Linked DNA regions of Homo sapiens: region 1 is linked to region 2. Evidence: promoter capture Hi-C in human tissues and cell types (Jung and others, 2019). All regions are on one chromosome and are shown on one strand. The core of a region is centred on a gene start or on the middle of the fragment in contact, and the rest is flanking DNA. Distances in the headings are between cores, read along the strand shown.

What was found. The method cuts DNA at HindIII sites, captures the fragments that hold promoters and counts their contacts. A contact is called where the count stands out against the background at its distance.
Region 1: a contact is called between a fragment that was not itself captured here and the fragment with the promoter of ATF7 in region 2, in 1 of the 25 tissues and cell types used here (hippocampus).

What each region holds. Positions count from the first base shown.
Region 1 is chr12:53,474,103-53,478,562 of GRCh38, forward strand. All of the region lies in intron 14 of PCBP2 (poly(rC) binding protein 2), which reads left to right. Among named protein-coding and RNA genes, the nearest start is that of PCBP2-OT1, 12 kb to the left of the region's middle. The HindIII fragment of the contact is 4,559 bases long and covers 1-4,153 here.
Region 2 is chr12:53,623,685-53,628,197 of GRCh38, forward strand. ATF7 (activating transcription factor 7) reads right to left here and starts at 2,698. Exons shown (of 12, transcript NM_006856.3): 1 at 2,595-2,698. ATF7-NPFF (ATF7-NPFF readthrough) reads right to left here and starts at 2,698. Exons shown (of 15, transcript NR_159377.1): 1 at 2,595-2,698. RefSeq lists an enhancer at 2,555-2,624. The HindIII fragment of the contact is 8,169 bases long and covers 1-4,513 here.

The DNA of each region.
Region 1 (4,460 bases), core at 624-3,123, 150 kb before region 2:
GCAGCAGCATTTTCGCTTAAGTATGAATTTTTAGGTGATACTTGAGTTTCTCTTTTCCACTTCTGAAAGGTCCACATTAGAAGTATGATCAGTCAGAAACAACTTTTTATACCACCTCCCACCAGAAAAGCTTCCCTAGTTCTTATCTACACTTCTGTTCTCAGCATTTTTCTTTGAAAACGCTACATTCTTTGAAATTTGAAATTAGTCAGTGACCTACTTTGGACTCTTGTCTCTTTCCACCCTGATACTGGTTTGTTTGCTGTGGAGATGTAAGCAGACTTTAATACATAGCTGGAAGGATTTTTAAAAATTCTGCTTTATAAATATTCAAAGCTTCACAAGTAATTGTGGGATAATTGATTTTCTGTTAGAATAGGAAATTGACATTTGATTAGAGGAAACATTTCTTCCTTGTTGGGTGATTGATGAGTATCTTTTTCTACCCGAAATCATTCCTTCAACATCTGGGTTGGGTCAGTGTGTCAGATACATGAAGTATGTGCCCTATGATTTCTTTTCTCTGTCAGCTTTTTCTTCACCATAGCAGTTTTTAAGTAGCTCTGTGGAATGGAAATATACATATTTAGAGGGTGGGACATAGGCTAAAAGAAAGCTTGTCACAAGTTGACACTAGGTCTTCCTAATTGTCAACCAGAGGCACTTACTGATATAACTGAAGCAGTTTTTGTCCTGTACTTACTCCCTTTTGTGGTCTTCCCTTCCACCCACCCTTTTTTTTTGTTCCTTTTTTCCTCTGTTACAGTTTAGAAAACGCTAAACCCTCCTCCCAGGCAGCCTCCGTCACGATCCCTGATCACCTCAGCATCAACCTCTCTCAACCCTCCACCCCTTCTTCTTCTTCCTCCTCCACCACCACCCCCTCGCTCGCCACAGCGGGGACCTCCGACGCACCCTCCAGCCTCCCCAACCCTCTTCCGACCGCCCCTTGTGTCTCCAGTCTGCTTGGCATGAAACCCATCCCTCTCCTGGCTCTAAATGTTGTGTCTGCTGCTAAGGGTACCGGGGCTTCAGCTACCACCACCACCACCTCTGCCGTGCCATGTGTAACTAACAAACTGAAAGGCGAGAAACAGAGATTCTCTCCCTACTGATTGCATACCTTGAGGCACCTCCTCCAGTATTATTTTGTTCATTTTGTTTTCCTTTGTTAACATTGGTGAGAATGAAACTATTGTGAGCTTGTTACCGTTTCCTTTTTACTACTTTGGGGGATAACTGGGTGGGGGTGGGGGAGTGGTAACCCTTGTTTAGGTTTAGGCCATTTCAGCTGAGTGCCTGTTTCAGGGTCTGACTTGAATTCTTTATCTAGAGCCACAGTTTTCTCTTCTTTCTTGTTTGTTACTTTTCTTTGTAGCTTTATTCTGCCTTGCAATATAACAATGTGTTAGGCTCTGTGTTAATGAATAAAAGCTGCTTCGTTAACTTTTTTTTTTTTTTTTAAGAATTATTTAATGGTTAAGCTATCAGCAGGCCTTCTTGGCCATATTTGTGTTTCTAGCTGTAATAAAGTTGGCGCAGTAAGAACCTTAGTACACTGTGTGCTGTGAAGGGTAAAGGGTTGGGGGCTTGTGACTTGTGGCTATTCAGCTAGGAAGCCTGTATAACTGACATGGGCTTTTTGAATCCCAAGTGAATTTTATAGTCGTTTGTCAATATTTCCACAAAGAGATAACGAGTCTGTGGCAGTTTAGATCCTGAAGGTCCTCTGTAATTGGCAACAAGCTTCACTAGTGAGGAAGTTTATCTGACTTCTCAGATGGCCTTACCTTGCCAGCAGCAGCTAACAAGGTGTTCATCCCAGGATTCCTCTGGTGAATGGTTACCATGAGGATCTCTTCCAAGTCATACATTCAAAGAACATACTTCTTTACCCAGAATGAAGGGGAGGGGCAAAGTGGGATAAGTCTAATAAAATTAGGCAGCTTCTGTCTGCATTCCTCTGAATTAGCATTATGCCTCTTTCTGTGACATTAGGTATATCTCAGCCAACCCGTGACATTATCCACAACTTGACATGATGCCATCCACTAGTCCTAAACCAACTCTGTCAACCAAGTTTCTTTACCCTTTTTTCTATTCCTGGCCGTATCCTTTCTGCTCCCCACCAGCACTATCAGGAGTAGGAAGTGACATGCTTAGATTTGGAAGGAACCTTAAGGATCAACTAATCTGTAACACATTGATCCCCTCATTTTACAGATTAAAAAATAGAGGCCCTAAGATAATTTAAATTCATAGGTTATGAGTGACTAGCCAGGACTAACAACTTAAGCTTTACTTTTACTCAATCGTACTAACCTCCCTGAAATCTTGTTCATTTTCTTATACTAAGATGGGCACAGGCCTCTCATAAAACAGTAGAAATGTTCTTAGTATGGTGGTATAAGGCCTCTGATAGCCTTCCATTCAACGAGAGTACACGTTGCCACAGTGCTGAAAGTGTAATGCTCTTCCCAGGGCATTAGAGAACTCAGTGTAGAGATAGTTTCCCTGATGACCTTTTCCCAGCATCACCATTGGCTGACAAAAAAAAAAAAGCTGTTAGTATTCCAATATATTATCTCATTCTTTGATGTTATTTTGGCCCCTCCATCCCAGATTGGGCCTGTGAAGAAGTGTTACACGTCTCAAGTATGCATAAAGGATTAGATGGCCAAACCTGTCCAGTAAGGAGTTTTATTTAGTTGCTCCTTTATCATGTGGTCCAGCTCTCTCCCTTGGTAAGCTTGCTCCTCCTGTAGTTAGGACTTAATCATGCTGATACCATCTCCCCCCAGGGATGTGGTTTTATCTAGTTCTTGATTGGAAGGCCTCTTAACCTAATGGCTATTCCCCAAGGAAGGATTCCACATGTTTAAGGGTCTAGCTACCATCACTACCTCCAAAGGGCCTCAGTTTTAAATTTTTTTAAACCCTAGAGCTCCCCCATGTGGTCTTTTATCCTAGAGTACCTGACTCAGTATTTCATAGCATCCCCTTCTCCCTGCGTCACCTCCCCCACCCCAGCAAATCCCCATTCGGGCTTGATACACATTCAGAACATTTCTTTCAGAGCTCTGGTGGGGCCAGAGTGCTACCACCAATTTTTATGAACTTAAATTTTCAGGTCCTAGATCTAATGGTATCTAGCAGTTCCTTTCTTAGACCTTCAGTTCTTACTGAACCCTTTAATCCAGGGCTATTGTTTACCTTTCCTTAGATCATTGTGTTTTGAAATTGGCACGAATCTACCCCCCTTTTAAGAACTAAATATCCCCTGCCGGGCACGGTGGCTCACGCCTGTAATCCCAGCACTTTGGGAGGCCGAGGCGGGTGGATCACGAGGTCAGGAGATCAAGACCATCCTGGCTAACACAGTGAAACCCCGACTCTACTAAAAACATAAAAAAATTAGCTGGGCATGGTGGTGGGCGCCTGTAGTCCCAGCAACTCGGGAGGCTGAGGCAGGAGAATGGCGTGAACCTGGGAGGCGGAGCTTGCAGTGAGCCGAGACCGCGCCACTGTACTCCAGCCTGGGTGACAAAGCAAGACTCTGTCTCAAAAAAAAAAAAAAAAAAAAAAAAAAAAACCCTAAATATTCCCTTAATACTGAGGTGGAGAAACCATTTCTGACTAAAAGTAAATAGTTTGTAGTCGAAGGACTTTGCAGTTTTTTGGCCCTTGCTTTTCTACCCAGCTTTTGGCTTTGCATTGTTGTGGAAGGGATACAGATGGTGAATTACCAATCATGTTTTCATGACCACATATCACAAATATTTTATGCTAATCAGTTTAAAATCTTATGAAATAACTTATCTTATGAACTGAAATGAAGTCTTATACATTTGGTTCTATTCAAAATGAGGGCAAAGTCTTGCTGCCTACCTACCTACCAGTGAAGCATACTGAGTACTTAAATACTTTTCCCTGAAAGCCCTAAATTGGATTCCAGGACCTCAAATGACTATCTCTTTGAAACAGAAAGGCATTGTAGCCAGGTATGTTTAGATGGAGGATATGGCTTGACAAGATCTAGGAGCTTGTAGAGTGAGCTACAGAGTTGAAACAAATTATTTTGTCTGCTACTTTTAAGTCCTGAAAACTTTTTAAAGAACTTTTTAAGGCCGGGTGTGGTGGCTCATGCCTAATCCTAGCACTTTGGGAGGCCAAGACAAGTGGATCACCTGAGGTCAGAAGTTTGAGACCAGCCTGGCCAACATGGTGAAACTCTGTCTCTACTGAAAATACAAAAATTAGCTGGGCATGGTGACAGCTGCCTGGAATTGCAGCTACTCAGGAGGCTGAGGCAGGAGAATCGCTAGAACACGGGAGGCAGGGGTTGCAGTGAGTTGAGATTGCGCCATTGCACTCCAGCCTGGGTGAAACTCAGTCTCAAAAAAATAAATAAATAAATAAGGCCAGGCGCGGTGGCTCATGCCTGTAATCCCAGCACATTG
Region 2 (4,513 bases), core at 1,448-3,947:
TAACACTAACTCCCTCCCACTGTAGCCTAGGAAAAACTCGGTCTTGACATGCACAAAACAATAACTTCTGAGAACTTCAGAGCAGCTGTGTTCAGACAGAGCCAGTGACTTTACTCCAGGCAAAGAAGTAGTTTAAGAGTTGGTTGAAAAAACAATTTTCATTTTGGGTTGGAAATGAGGAAAGGAAAGAGAACAAGATACAGTAAGTAGAGCTATTAACATTTTAAAACCGTGGTAAACAAACGTGTTTAAAAATTACAACACTGAAACTACCACAGGGTGTAAACTTTGATCCACAAGTTGAAAGATGAGCAGTGTTATCACTCTAGCTTTCTGCTAGATGGTAGCACTAGTGAGAAAAAAAAAATCTTGGGTTTAATAGTGCCCTAGTCAAAGCAATCACCAATTCTAGGGCAGAAGACCAAAACAAGGGACTCTGCTCTCTCACTGGGTAATTTTCTGTACTGCTGCCAGGCAAACTGGAAATGTTCTGAATGTCCAATAGCAATGCACTTACTGTGAAATACTAGAACCCAGCTCAGTAGTTAATGCTAACGGGTCAGCAATGAATTGGTCTCAATGTGCTATAGGGGCAACTTCTTGGCCAGGGAGAAAGGCTTCAGCTGATTGCAGAAAACCAAAGGTTAATACAACTACGTACTCTGGTTTCTCTTCATGTAATAGCTTTACTGATATTTCAGACATTATTTCCCTTCTCAAAAGTAAAAGGAGAAGAGAAGGAATGTAAAAGCAAAATCTACGCAAGAGCAAAGAAGTTATTAATTGGCTATATTAGTCCAATTCGTTATTAAATGATACACAACTATCAAACAAAGGGCAAAGCCCTGTCCCTTTTCTGTACAGAATTAAGAACTGGTAAGACTACTTAGCAGAGCTTGCAAACTTTTCTTTAGCTTCTTTTCTTACAGACATGTTACATTTCGCAAGAGCCTCCACTTACCTTACAACTTCCATGTGTAAGTACAAATTGTGTTTGATTTCCCCAGCCCTTGGCCTAAGATATTATGACATAGCTTTAGTTTCTGAGTCTGGACACAAAGGAAAAAACTGAACATTTTTCACTTTCCTGAAATAACATGTCTATTTTATTTACACTATTTAAAAACACATTATGTAAGTTAACTAAAACAAACTGCAACCACCCATTCGACAACTCTTCGAGAATGACTGGGGAAGCCACATTTAACAAAACAAACTTCATTTTAGTATATTTCTGCTTAGAATGCCCATAAAGACTGATATCGCTACAAGAATTACACTACTGCAAAATTTTTAAACACAGGACTCATGTGAGCTTGCTGAGAAAACTCTGCACACCCCCTACACACCTGTACTTAATATGACATGACCCTCAGAGATACTAAAACACCCTCTGTTAAGCAGAAAACAAACTTTTAAAGTTAGGAAAGTAGCAACGCGGGAATCTGGGTAGGAGGTGCCCTGGGTTGTAAACACCCCAGTCAGAGAACATAACAAGCAATTCAGAGCAACATATTAAGTCCCTATGGGGCTCCAACTTGGACTGCTTAAGTCCCAAGACCACATCCTGGTGTCTGGGAAGAGTTTGGGTAATAGAAGAGAGGGAGAAGGAAAATCAGAGAAGCGATGAAAGCGTTCTATTTTTCTCCTTCTCAACCCCCATCCCAGCATCTTGGAGGCTGGTCACCAGTCTGGGTGCCATATCCACCAGAAGCCCTAAATCAATATCCCAACCACCTGATACCTAGGCTAAAGACATGTGTATATCAGCCATCTCCTTCCCAAACACCTCTTATCGCTCTCAAGGCTCATATCCTTCCAGAAGCCATGCCTTATGGCGACTCAGCTCACCCATACTGTCCTCTTAAATTAATTCACTTAATTTTCTCCAAATCCATACTTTCTCTCTGATATCATGTCCCTGATGTTCTTTTAATTAATTCAATCAAAATGCCATGACCCTCATTTCCAATAATCCACCCCATCTATCTTTTCTGCCAAACCCAACGGGGTGTTGTGTCACCAGATCAAGATCTTTGTTCTCATCTACTCATTCCTACCTCCTTCCTATTACCCTTTTCCAATTCCAAGCTCCTAATCCCACTCTTTGGGAAGCCCTGGGTTTCTAACTTAGTTTAGTATCCCTCCTCTTTCTCCCATTCCACCCCATCCCATGATCCTTCCATTAGGCTCCACTAGACTACCCTTCCCTCAGGATTCAATTCCCCTCTCCTTGCCACGCCCTGTGCCCCCCGGGGCTACTTACACCAAGTTCTCCCCACACTTCAAGCCTCTGGCCCCGCCTTCCCCCCAAAGGAAGGAGGCGGGAGTAGGGAGAGAAGGGCGGCGCTCGGCAACGTAAAAGCGATCTCCCATTAGCGCTCATCGCCGCCAATCGAGGCTTCCTTCTCTCCCATTGGTCGGCTTTGGCCTATGCCCCACCCTCTTCCTCAGACAGGGCCCGGCCACCGCCTCAGCGCCCCCGTCCAACACAGACTGGGAGGGGAGACCCCAGCCTGGAACGCTGGGACTGGCCAGAGTTGAAAGGGAGACTCCCGTCAGATCATGGACTAGCTAATGTTAAAAGGACTTACCGGCTGGTAGCTCCGTTGCCTCCCGCCTGCCCGCGCTCGGTCCTACAATCTGTCTCCAGCTCCTCCTTTCCCCCCTTGGCGGAACGGATACTTTCCTCCCGTCCGGCCAGGCGCGCTCAACTCTCGCGAGAAGTCATGGGTCCGCGGGGGAAGGGCGAGATCCGTGGGGGCTGAGTTGGAAAGCGGCCGAGAGGCGGGGGCTCCGGGAAAAGAAGGGGCCGGGCTTACTGTGGGCAGGGCTGGGGAGGGAGACTGAGCGAGTACTGTCCACACAGGTCACACGTGTTCGGCTGCAGAATCTAGCGGGAGAAAGAAAGGAAAAAGGAGAGAGGATCTTTACAGGTGCCTGTAGTGGTGGTTACTACTATCTTTCAGAGTCATCGCTTCCTTAACGGCAAAGTAATTTAAAATACCCTTAGCGCTAGAAATGAAGTCCATGTACGGACAAAGCAATCCACCCGCACAGCAATTCTAACACTACCATTTTACTAGCCCTATTGCCTTGGGTGAAAACCTTCTCTGAGTCTCTGTACAATGGGACTAACAATCTCATTTTATTCAAATAGTTGTAATGATCAAATGAGATACATGAAACTGCTTGGGGATTTTTTAAAATCACTATATTATTCAGCAAATATTTTCACAAAACGTAGGGCATACTACATGCAAAGCATTGTTCTGCAGTCGAATGCTCTATCCCTGAGCTATACCCCCCGTGCAAAGCATTGTTCTAAGCATGGGGTTAAGGAGTTACCAACCCAGGTAGAATTTATATTTGAGTGAGGAAGGGGAGACAGTTAAAAAGCCAATAAACACAAATATTTCAAATAGTGAAAAGCGCTTCAGGATAGTGAGACAGAAGGTGACTAGGAGTGGGGAAGAAGCTTTACTCCTAGTGTTTGAGAGAAGACCTCTTTGAGGAAGTAACACACCAGGAGTTGAATTATGACCTGGGAAGATTTCGGGGGAAATATCAAATGCAAAGTCTATAGTCTTACATTTATATGTCTTGTTCAAGACAAACCAGGAAAAGAAAAAAGAAAAACAAAAAACAGGCTGGGTGCAGTGGCTCACGTCTGTAATCCCAACACTGCTAGGCCGAGGCAAGAGGATCGCCTGAGCCCAGGAATTTGAGACCAGCCTGGGCAACATGGCGAAAACTCAGCTCTACGAAAAAATATAAAATTAGCCGGGCATGGTGGCCTGCACCTGTAGTAGCTATTCGGGGGGCTAAGTGGGAAGATCGCTTGAGCCCAGGAGGTTGAGGTGGCAGTGAGCCCACATCAGGCCACTGCACTCCAGCCTGGACAACAGAGTGAAACCCTGTCTCGATAAATAAATAAAATAAATAATTTTCTTAAAATTTAACGAATTGTAGTTGACTTAAAATATTATCTATGGAATCTCTGTTCTCTCCTTTTGCAGCTTTATGTTACTCAGCTTTCTGAACTTTCTGTCTAGCATCTCATCTATCCTCACAGCACCCTCTGAGAGGTAGGAAGAATCTGGGTGATTTCTCCCTAGATACCTAAAATGAAACAGATGTAAAATCTTTCTTTCTTATGTAGTGAATTGAGAAAAGTTGAGAGGAGTCTTGGCTTCCAAACTATTCTCCCCTAAAACAATTCCTACTTAAAAGAATACAGTGATGGAAACATACCTTAAATATATAAGAAAAATTTGTATGTTGGCCGGGCGCAGTGGCTCACGCCTGTAAATCCCAGCTACTCAGGAGGCCGAGGCAAGAGAATCACTTGAACCTGGAAAGCGGAGGTTGCAGTGAGCCAAGATCCCGCCATTGCACTCCAGCCTGGGCAACAACAGCGAAACTCCGTGTCAAAATAAATAAATAAATAAATAAATAAATAAATAAATAAAAATAAAATCAGAGGGAAAAGGATTCTACAAATCGTGGTGGA